3 separate regions of the Homo sapiens genome follow, and all the other regions are linked to region 2. The links are contacts of gene promoters, found by promoter capture Hi-C in blood cells and fetal thymus (Javierre and others, 2016). All regions are on one chromosome and are shown on one strand. The core of a region is centred on a gene start or on the middle of the fragment in contact, and the rest is flanking DNA. Distances in the headings are between cores, read along the strand shown.

Evidence for each region. The method cuts DNA at HindIII sites, captures the fragments that hold promoters and counts their contacts. A CHiCAGO score of 5 or more calls a contact.
Region 1: the fragment with the promoter of MCCC2 here is called in contact with the fragment with the promoter of TNPO1 in region 2 in 5 of 17 cell types (total B cells, naive CD8 T cells, total CD4 T cells and 2 more); the score reaches 7.9 in total B cells.
Region 3: the fragment with the promoter of GFM2 here is called in contact with the fragment with the promoter of TNPO1 in region 2 in 1 of 17 cell types (total B cells); the score reaches 5.6 in total B cells.

The regions. Positions count from the first base shown.
Region 1 is chr5:71,585,601-71,588,742 of GRCh38, forward strand. MCCC2 (methylcrotonyl-CoA carboxylase subunit 2) reads left to right here and starts at 1,740. Exons shown (of 17, transcript NM_022132.5): 1 at 1,740-1,954. The coding sequence starts at 1,826. RefSeq lists an enhancer at 1,399-2,185. The HindIII fragment of the contact is 6,273 bases long and covers 1-3,037 here.
Region 2 is chr5:72,815,206-72,818,765 of GRCh38, forward strand. It overlaps TNPO1 (transportin 1), which reads left to right and starts at 1,456. Exons shown (of 25, transcript NM_002270.4): 1 at 1,456-1,547. The coding sequence starts at 1,533. TNPO1-DT (TNPO1 divergent transcript) reads right to left here and starts at 1,343. Exons shown (of 9, transcript NR_186518.1): 1 at 948-1,343. RefSeq lists enhancers at 1,023-1,102, 2,183-2,232 and silencers at 1,363-1,462, 1,503-1,722. The HindIII fragment of the contact is 3,194 bases long and covers 1-2,436 here.
Region 3 is chr5:74,765,801-74,769,011 of GRCh38, forward strand. It overlaps GFM2 (GTP dependent ribosome recycling factor mitochondrial 2), which reads right to left and starts at 1,317. Exons shown (of 21, transcript NM_032380.5): 1 at 1,138-1,317. NSA2 (NSA2 ribosome biogenesis factor) reads left to right here and starts at 1,449. Exons shown (of 6, transcript NM_014886.6): 1 at 1,449-1,563; 2 at 3,131-3,211. The coding sequence starts at 1,561. RefSeq lists an enhancer at 1,030-1,469. The HindIII fragment of the contact is 3,173 bases long and covers 1-1,767 here.

The sequences.
Region 1 (3,142 bases), core at 490-2,989, 1.2 Mb before region 2:
TTGCAGTTTAGCTCATGCTCTCCTCCATTTGCACAAAGCCTGGCCATGTTCATTGCTCAGTCCACTCTCAACGCTTCTGCAAGGCTCAGCTGCAACCCTTTCCCAATTGCATTCTGTTCCTTTAATGTCTGTCCTACACAGTTCAGTAAGAAATCATGTGGCCATTTGTATTATTTTCTTATAAGTACCTTGAAGTCTGAACCTAAGTTTACCTCCAGGTGTAGACGCACCCTTTCTCTACCCCATCCTCCCCCTTTACTCTGCCCCACTAAGCAACCAATGGAGTAGAAGTAGTAAGTGCTCAATAAATATGTGAATGAAAAACCTTAAGTTCAAGGCATTTTGTATAGAATGTTTTAATTTTTATGGGTATATTTGGAGTCCTTTATTTAAGACCACAGTGCTGATGTCCACAATCTGTCACTACATAGTGCCTGGTGTGGTGGCTCATGTCTGTAATCCCAGCACTTTGGGAGGCTGTGGCGGGCAGATCGCTTGAGTCCAGGAGTTCAAGACCAGCATAGCCAACATGGTGAAACCCCTACAAAAATAAAAAATTAGCCGGGCTTGGTGGCACAAACCTGTAGTCTCAGCTACTGGAAAGGCTGAGGTGGGAGGTCAAGGATTCAGCGAGCTGTGATCGTGCCACTGCATTGCAGCCTGGGCGACAGAGTGAGGCCCTGTCTCAAAAAATGAAATAAAGTAAAAAATAAAAATAACTACATAGCGAAAATAATCAGAAGAATGTTTAAGGTCTCCAGTGAAAGGACAACAGGCTTGTTGTGCTGTTCGCAAGCACGTGTTAGATGCGATTCACTCATGTTGTTGGTGTGTCACTGGGGGTTGTGACTGCAAGTTGTCCAGGTTCTTGGCATTGTGAACAAAGAATTGGACAAAACGCCCAGCAAAGCAAAGAAAGAACAAGGCAACGAAAGAACGAAAGCAGGGATTTACCGAAAACGAAAGTGCACTCCACAATGTGGGAGCGGACCGAGCAGAGCTCAAGGGCCCGGATATAGAATCTTCTTGGGTCCAAATACCCACTAGAAGTTTCCTATTGGCCATTTTATGCTCACCTCAAACCCGATTGGTTGCAAGAAGCAAGCAGTCAGAGGCTAGGGTGAAATTACAAAGTTATACTTCTATGCAAACGAAGACTGGACCCCCAATCAGTCTGATTGGTTGTGGACAGCAACCATTCAGAGGCTGGAGTTAAGGTTCAAACTTGGCAAAGCAAGCCTCCACCAGCAGTAAGTCTGATTTGTCGGGGACAGCCAATTTCCTATCTGCCCTGCGGAAAAGGTGGGGGGGTTTGCAAAGGGAGTAGCCTTTGGTCCTTTTGTTACTTAGGCATGGAAAGTTAGGGTTTTCCTTTCAGTTTAGCTCTAGGAAGTCAGCGTGAGACAGCCTTAGGTTCCCTGCTTCCAGACTTATTCTCCTGCCTTAGGTACAGTCACTATCGTGATATTATCTATCGCTGTGTCAACACAACACCAATCCAAGCCCAACCGCAGCTCTCTCACTGCCGCACCGCTTCGTGAGGGTCGATCCGCCGGGGAGACCTGCTCTCCTGCGCTCGGGACTAGACGCGACCTCGCGGGGCTGAGGCTCTGTCCCTTATTGGCTGGGTCAGGGGGCGTGGCGCGGCTTGACCAATCGCGGGCGGCGCGCTTAGGCACGTGTGTGGACAGGCCTGAGAATCAGAGAAACCTTCTCTGGGGCTGCAAGGACCTGAGCTCAGCTTCCGCCCCAGCCAGGGAAGCGGCAGGGGAAAGCACCGGCTCCAGGCCAGCGTGGGCCGCTCTCTCGCTCGGTGCCCGCCGCCATGTGGGCCGTCCTGAGGTTAGCCCTGCGGCCGTGTGCCCGCGCCTCTCCCGCCGGGCCGCGCGCCTATCACGGGGACTCGGTGGCCTCGCTGGGCACCCAGCCGGACTTGGGCTCTGCCCTCTACCAGGTAGGCTGAGCGCCCCGGTGGCCTGGCCGCCGGTGCCAGGCTAGGAAGCAAGTGGAGGAGGGGCACGCTTCAACAACTGCTGCTCTCTTGTCCGGAGCCCCAGTTGATTCTGTGACGCACGTGAAGTTTGAAGAAGAAAAGCCTAACAGATACAAGAAAGTTTAGTTCACTTTTAGAGCTGGCACTGTACTTTGTGTCTTTGAAATCAGTGGTTCTTAAAGCCTGGTTTAGAATTGCCACCTGGGGAGCTAGCTGAATAGCTGCCTGAGCCCTACTCTGGACCTTGTGGGTCTCAGGTGGAGTCGCTGTGTTTATATTGTTAGTGAACTCATTAGGGGACTTTTGGCAGCCAGCTTTGGGAACCACTGGCCTAGAGCAGCCCAACGAGGGGCGCTGTGCTTAGGAAATTTGAGTTTAAAAGTTGATTATGATGGCCGAGCCCAGTGGCTCACGCCTGTAATCCCAGCGCTTTGGGAGGCCCTGGCGGGTGGATTACCTGAGATCAGGAGTTCGAGAACAGCCTGGCCAACGTGGTGAAACCCCATCTCTACTAAGAATACAAAAATTAGCCGGGCATGGTGGCGCGCGCCTGTAATCCCAGCTACCTGGGAGGCTGAGGCAGGGGAATCGCTTGAACTTGGGAGGCGGAGGTTGCAGTGAGCTGAGATCGTGCCATTGCACTCCAGCCTTGGCAACAAGAGCGAACTCTGTCTCAAAAAAAAAAAAAAAAAAAAGTTGGTTATGTTAATAGAAAATATCCCACAGTATCTTTGAGTGGCTTTTCTTGGAATTAGGAGGCATCATAAGGCCAAAAAACTCAAAACTTGCGAAATATCAGAGCTGGAAAATTTCACTGTGTTCCCACGATTTCTAAGCCTATACAGATAACATCTAAATAGTGCAAACAACACACAATTGTTTGTCAGTCCAGAATGTTTAATTCAGAATTATTAAGTGGTTATTGTGGTCTAGGCACTATTTTAGATATTTGGCATGGATGCGTAGGAATGGAACTAATAATTTTGTAGGGAAGATGGACAAGAAAGCAGGTAACTGTGGTACAGTGTAAGAAGGGTTGTCTAAAGCTTGAGAAGGTGGTTACAGAAAGCTACCGATAGGAAGTAATGGGTGAGATGAATCTTGGGTAAGAGCTGGCCAAGTTCAGGGTGCAGGATGGAAGGTAAGACT
Region 2 (3,560 bases), core at 206-2,705:
TTTCAAATGCAGAAATAAGCCATTTGTTATTTGGATAAATATACTTTTTCTGGGTATATTTTCCTGCAGATAAACTACCATTCAGAAAAGTTTATATTACATTTTTTTCTTGGTAATCTACTCCTATTTGGGGGGGGGGGCTCTTTTTGATATACACTACTGTATCCAATTACTATCAAATTAATATTATAACATGTTGAAATCATGAATATTTTAGTTATCTATATTTTCCCTTGCTAAGTTCAATTTCCCAATGATTAAAAAATGGTACTTTTAGTCTCAAATTTTAAGTTAAATAAACTAGTTGTTCCTGCAAAATGACTGTAATTCAAATGAAAATTGTTAACACGTTTAGAAGAACAAATAAATTACCTTAGTAAAAATTTAGACATTTTCTAGTATTATGTACTGTAATTTTACCTAAACTATGACAGGAAGGCAACAACTGTCACACATTTTCAAAATATATACAGCACTTCCAGTAAGATAGTCGGAACTGCTGGTATTTCTACTCACACTGATCATGTGAGGAATATTATCACGGGCATCATCACCTTAGAAAATAAAAATCAGCTAGCTATGCAAATTTTAAGTATTTTTATACAGTAAATTTTACATATAAGAATAATCTGAGGGAAGGAAACTGATATTTATCTCATTACCCTTGTTGCAGTTGGGTATAAAAACGTCCACCACTCCCATTTTGAATCATTTGCCGTACAGAAAATACAGGACATTTTAATTTCTCATGATGGCAGGTTAGGGAGAGAAAGGCTTGTTATTTCTAAGAGCAAGAAACTACAGTTTTATAGGATTGAACACCTGGAGGCGTAAACATTTTATAAATCACTGAATTCTAATTACATAGTAGTTTATACGCCAGATACAACATACGTCAAAAGCCTATCTTGTTCTAAGCGGGCAGCCATCCACCGGCGTCTACCTACCGAAGCCATTTCTGCTTTTTACCAGCGACGCTGGAACAGTGTTATTGTGGGATATGTTCAGTGTTGAACAGGCTCCCAGGGCACGGCTGTTACTTTGGAGGTTATGCTGGGGTACAGAAGTTAGGCTGGGGCAGGGCCATCCACCTAGGAGGGCCCAGCACAGTCTGGGCAACCACACCGGCGGGCCGTTTTGCTCACAGCCCCACCGCGCCGGGCAGCGTCTGCAGCTGCTGCGTGCGAGACCCAGAGGCTCCGGTCAGCGCGCCGGCCGCAGGGAGTGCGAGCACTTGTGAGCCCCGCGCCGGGCCGGTGAAGTCTGGTGCTGCCGAGCCCGCTTAGAAAGCACGGCCGCGCGCTGTCGGACGCAGGCCCACAGGCCCAGCCGACCCAGGCAGCAATTTTCCTAGCCCCGCCGCCGTTGCCAAGGCGACCGCCGCCGAATGTTCCCGCCGCGGGCTCCGCCCCCCGGCCAATCGGACCGGCGCTCGGTGAAGCCCAGATTCTCTTTGTTCCGCAGCCATTTCAGGCCCCGGACAGGAGGCAGTGCCGCTTCGGCCGAAGGCCCGAGCGCCCGAGGCGTCTGGGATGGTGTGGGACCGGGTAGGTGGCGTGAGGGTGCGCGGCCCCGAACTGCAGGGGCGGGAACGGAGGCTGGGAGCGCCGAGCTGCCTGACGCGCCTACGGGAGAGACGCCGGGCTCGCCCGCTCTCTCGGCGCCTGCCCGGCCGTTTGAAGCCGAGAGGCAGCGGCGGCGCGGTTCTAACCCCAACAGCTGCCCGCCCAGGCGCCCTGCGGGACCCGGGTAGGGAGCAGGCGACGGCGGCTCCTCAAGCGTCCGAGGATCCCGTTAGGGGCGGCAGGAGCCCGTTACAAGGGGCGGGAAGGGAAGGGTCTTACATTCAGGGGAGCGTTTGCCTCGCCTGTTAAGCTGTGGCGTTTGAGGGCCCTTGAGTGCTGCAGTCGGCTGCCCCGGGACGGCTGCCTTTCACTGGTTCTGGGCGCTGGCCGGCGCTGCCCGAGATGGGCCAGTCTTTGTCCCGCCCTGGGCCCCTCTGCCCGGGTCTCCTGCGTCCGCACACAGCGCCCATCGTCCTTACATGCAGCTTGCCGTTCTCTTCCTCCCGGCGGTTCTTTCTCCTTGGGGCCTCTTGGCCTCACGACATGTTTACATAATGTTTGTGACTGTACGAGTTTTGCGTGGGCTTGTGGGTTTTGCCCTTCTACCTCCACTCCCATGCGTACAAGCAACAGGGAACAGCTGCTGAGGAGCAGATTGGCCACCACAATCAAGCTATTTTCGGAATGACTTTCTTTAAAAATGATCGCGTGTTGCTTACTGATTTTAAAAATCAACTGGATTTTGCAAGGATTGCTTAGAGTTTAAGTCTGTTATCTTAATCGCTAATCAGGATGGTCTATCAGTAGATGTAAATGTAGAAATTTGAAATTGGAGGCTATCTACAAATTGATTTTGACAGCTGTATTAAGAAGCTTAATAACTGTCCTTTGAAACAGTAATGACTTAAATGATGAATGTGTAAGTGGTACTTTTTTTACCCTAAAGAAAAGATACTTTTAAAATTGCAAGATGTATGGTGTAATAGGTGTTTGGAAATGAAGGTTGTAAAATGGCTGTCCTGACGTACTACTCACTTTTAGAATAACAAAAGTTCCTGCAGCTTTTTAAGTTTCCCTGTTATATCAAAGCTTTCATGTTAGAGTGGTGAAGAAGCTATGTTTAGTGGAAAAGGGGAAAGTTCCGTTTTTTGGGAAAGGATCTGTTTTCCACTTTCACCTTACCTGGCACCGTAGTTGTTCCTAGAGAAGGCTGTGCCAGGATGAAAATTAGCAACCACAAAAGGGAAACAATAGTTTGTAGGTGCAGATATCTTTTTTAGTCTCTAGCTATGCAGTGCATAAATTTATACTAGCTTGGCAGTACGATTTTTACTTCATGCAATTTAACGTGAGCCTAATGAAGTACTAGTGTTCTGTTTTCTTTTTCCTAAAAGGGGCCGCCACCCTTGATGTGGCTGCATCTTTCTCCTAGTCAGGAATTATTAAATTCCTCCCACTGAAATATCTATAAAAATCTTGTTTGCACTTCTACCTCAACTCTCAGTGGCTTTATTACCATTATATAATGTGAGCAGAATAAGATTTTTGTAAAAATACATGATTCTAGTTGTAAGCTTTTCCAATATCAACATTTCTTATTGTATTCATTGTTTTTATGACTGTAGTTTTGCTTATTTATAATTTTAAAGCCATTCCATGAACTCAGTTTTTCTAAATGTTGTAAATGAGCTACTACATTGAAATGTAAACATCTGTATTTAGAAGAATTTCTTGAATTTTAACCATGTTGGATTCTGCAAATGTTTTTTTAAGAAAAGAAACCTGGTTATAAAGTGACGTCAAACCAAGTGACATAGGTAATGAAATAAATGAATTTATCAAATATAAACTGCAGAGAGGAGCACAGCAGTAAGTGGGGGAGTTCTTTTTATTGGCCAGGGTATAAATTGTGATATTTTTTCCTGAGATTGATATTTGAATACATATTGGTGCTAAAAAGATATCTTCCCCCCTCAAAACAGTTTGGTTTACCAG
Region 3 (3,211 bases), core at 67-2,566, 2.0 Mb after region 2:
AGCCCGACCAACATGGTGAAACCCCATCTCTACTAAAAATACAAAAATATTAGCTGGGTGTGGTGGCGAGCGCCTATAATTCCAGCTACTTGGGAGGCTGAACCTGGAGAATCGCTTGAACCCGGGAGGCAGAGGTTGCAGTGAGACGAGATGGCGCATTTGCACTCCAGCCTGTGCGACAAGATTGAAACTCCGTCTCAAAACAAAACAAAAACTGCCTCAAAGCCGGGCGCTGTGGCTCAAGCCTGTAATCCCAACACTTTGGGAGGCCGAGGCGGGTGGATCGCTCGTACCCGGGAGTTCGAGACCAGCCTGGGCAACACGGTGAAACCTCATCTCTACAAAAACTACAAAAATCAGCCAGGCTTCGTGGCGCGAGCCTGTAGCTCGCTACTTTTGAGGCTGAGGTCGGAGGATCGCTTGATCCCGGGAGGTCGAGGCTGCGGTGAGCCGAGCTCGTGCCCCTGCACTCCAGCCTGGGCGACTGGGCGAGATGCCGTCTCAAAATACCCATAAAAACAAAAACAAAAACAAAATACTGCCTCAAATACAAGCACTAAGAATTAATGAAAGTATTCTTTTGGTACAGTTCTTTTTGTTCATCAACTGAATCACGCTGCAAGCTGTGAAGTAATTAAGGGAACTTCTGCAACTGTGCAGTAAAAGGGTAAACCTGATAGTGTATTTAAGTAGACGTACTTTCTGGTAGTTAATTACTTCTTGACACTAGGGGGCCACTAAATACAAGTCCACTCAGCATTTGATTCGGTGCACCAAAATGCCTCAGAAATTTCTGGAATCAGTCCTGTACCTCCAAAAAACCAGAATGTTATCTTCTTCTTTTCTAACAGCTGCAAAGCCCCAGTAGTTCCATTTTTCTGTACACTAAGTTTTCATTCCTCAGTATCCTTCACAATCATGCACACATTACACAGAGTGACCGGAACAAAGATGAGTCGACTTCGCCGAATGATAGAGAAAAACTTCCATACTGAGCGAACACCGAGGGGAGTCCGGAGGCCCTGTTGTCCTCTTCCGTGGCTGGCTGTGTCCGTCGCAGCCTGAAAGGTCAGCGGTACCCAGCGCTGTGACAGGGTCACAGGCGCGCGATGTCTCACAGCTCGGAGCAGTACTCACCTGGCATTAGGCCGCGTGCCGCAGGCCAGCTCTCACCGCTGGGCTCTTGAAGCAGGAGGCGCGAGCCGCGCCAAAGTCTGCAACGGCCTCAAGTCTCGACGCCAGCCTAGGCAAAAGGCAATGTATCTAAACGAAAAGAAAATAGGCTTTCTCCGCTCTACCGCCTCGGGCAGCCACACCTCCACACTTCCGGCGGTGTACCGGCCAAATGCCGCCTGCCAGCAACTTCCGTCCTCCTAGCTAAAAGCGGAAAACAGAGGCTCGGAACCGCTGCGTGGTTCTTGCTCTTCACTCGGCCGTTTTAAAGGGTGACTCTTTCCTGTCCCGGCCTGCGTGGTGTGGGCTTGTGGGTCTTTGAGACCCGAAAATTGAGAGCGTTTTCGCACTCCAGCGGCTGCTCCTGGCGGCTCTGCGGCCGTCACCATGGTAAGGAGGATGCCTCGGACGCTCGCGACACACAGCGTCTGAGTTAGTGGGACCTGAGGACTCTGGGGCGCTGGGGTAGGGGGTGAGCGGTGGTAGGCGGAAATGAGAACTGCCAAGAGAAAAGGATGGTAGACCCGTGGGGTGGGCTCTGAGGAGTGGAAACAACTTCACATTCGAGACACAGACGGTATTTGCCAGAACACAAGCTTTGGAGCAAGATTTTACTCTGTCCTGTTTTCTTTTTTCTTTTTGATCCACCGCTAAGAGTCCTAAAAATTCCTGATTTCACCACAAGCGTGGTTATCAGCCCCAGAGCCTAATGGGAATATGGTTGTCCCTTGTACAGTCTTAGATGTCAGTCCCGCCCCCTTCATTTTACTGCTGAGGAAACTGAAGGCGTCCTTGCCAAAGACCAGACAGCTAATGAATTGCGAAGCCGGGCTTAACGGCCCAGATCTAACTGCCAGGTCCTTTCTCTTTGTGTTACGTCTCTATAATCTGCGTTTCTTTGCAAAATGGCATTCCATACACCCTTCATGTGATTGCTGCAAAGTTTATGTGATAGCAGTTGGTAGCAGCACACCTTGTTGGTTGTTACTTAACATTGCTCTCTGTGCTGGACTTGGCTTTGTATCATTTTTATTTTTGCAGCCTTAAAATACGAATAGACTCACGCCTGGCCGCGTGTTTAAAACGTGTCTAAAATGCAAAAAGCATCCCATACATTGCTGGTGAAAAGAAAAATAATGCACTTTTGGAAAACGGTCTGGCAGTAAACACACGTCCACATGAAGACTTGCATGCAGTTGTTTATTGCAGATTTATTCGTAATCACCCAAAACTGGGAACAACCCTGATACCTATCATCTGGTCAGCGGGTAAACAGTGGTGTATCCATACAATAGCATACTACTCAACAATAAAAAGGATTGAAGTTCCTATACCTGCAGCAAATTGGGTGAATCCCAAAAGCAAGAAACCAGATTCAAAAGGCTATGTACTACTGTTGATCCCTGTTTCATTCTGGGAAAGGCAAAACTGTAGGGATAGGTATCAAACTGAGGGTTGGGAAAGAGGATTGACTTAAAAGTTACATAGGGAATTTTAGGGGGAAATGGAAATTCTTTGTATTTTGATTGTGGTGGTTACAGAACTGTGTAGTTAGGAAAAACTTAGAACTGTATACCTAAAAAGGACAGGTTTTACTGTGTGTAAATTATGCTTCAATAAAACTGACTTAAATTTTTTAAATGTGAAATGAAGGTGTTATTAAAAAAGCAAATTATGTCAAGGAAAAAAGATACTGTAATCAGTTCATCCCTTTTGTGGTCCAGTAGATTTTGGACCATTCCCTAATGAGATTATTAGAGATGTAAGCCCTGATGCCTCATATCATTCAAGACCAAAATTTAACTTACATCATGTGAATAAACTTAATGGTGCAAGAATCATTTAAGTAAGTGAACATTTGGATGAAACAGGGTCTTTGTGCTGTGTAAAAGAAAGCATTTTAGAATAATTGTCAGTACTTTAAAAAATTAAAATAATATTTCTTCCATCATTATAGCCACAGAATGAATATATTGAATTACACCGTAAACGCTATGGATACCGTTTGGATTACCATGAGAAAAAGAGAAAGAAGGAA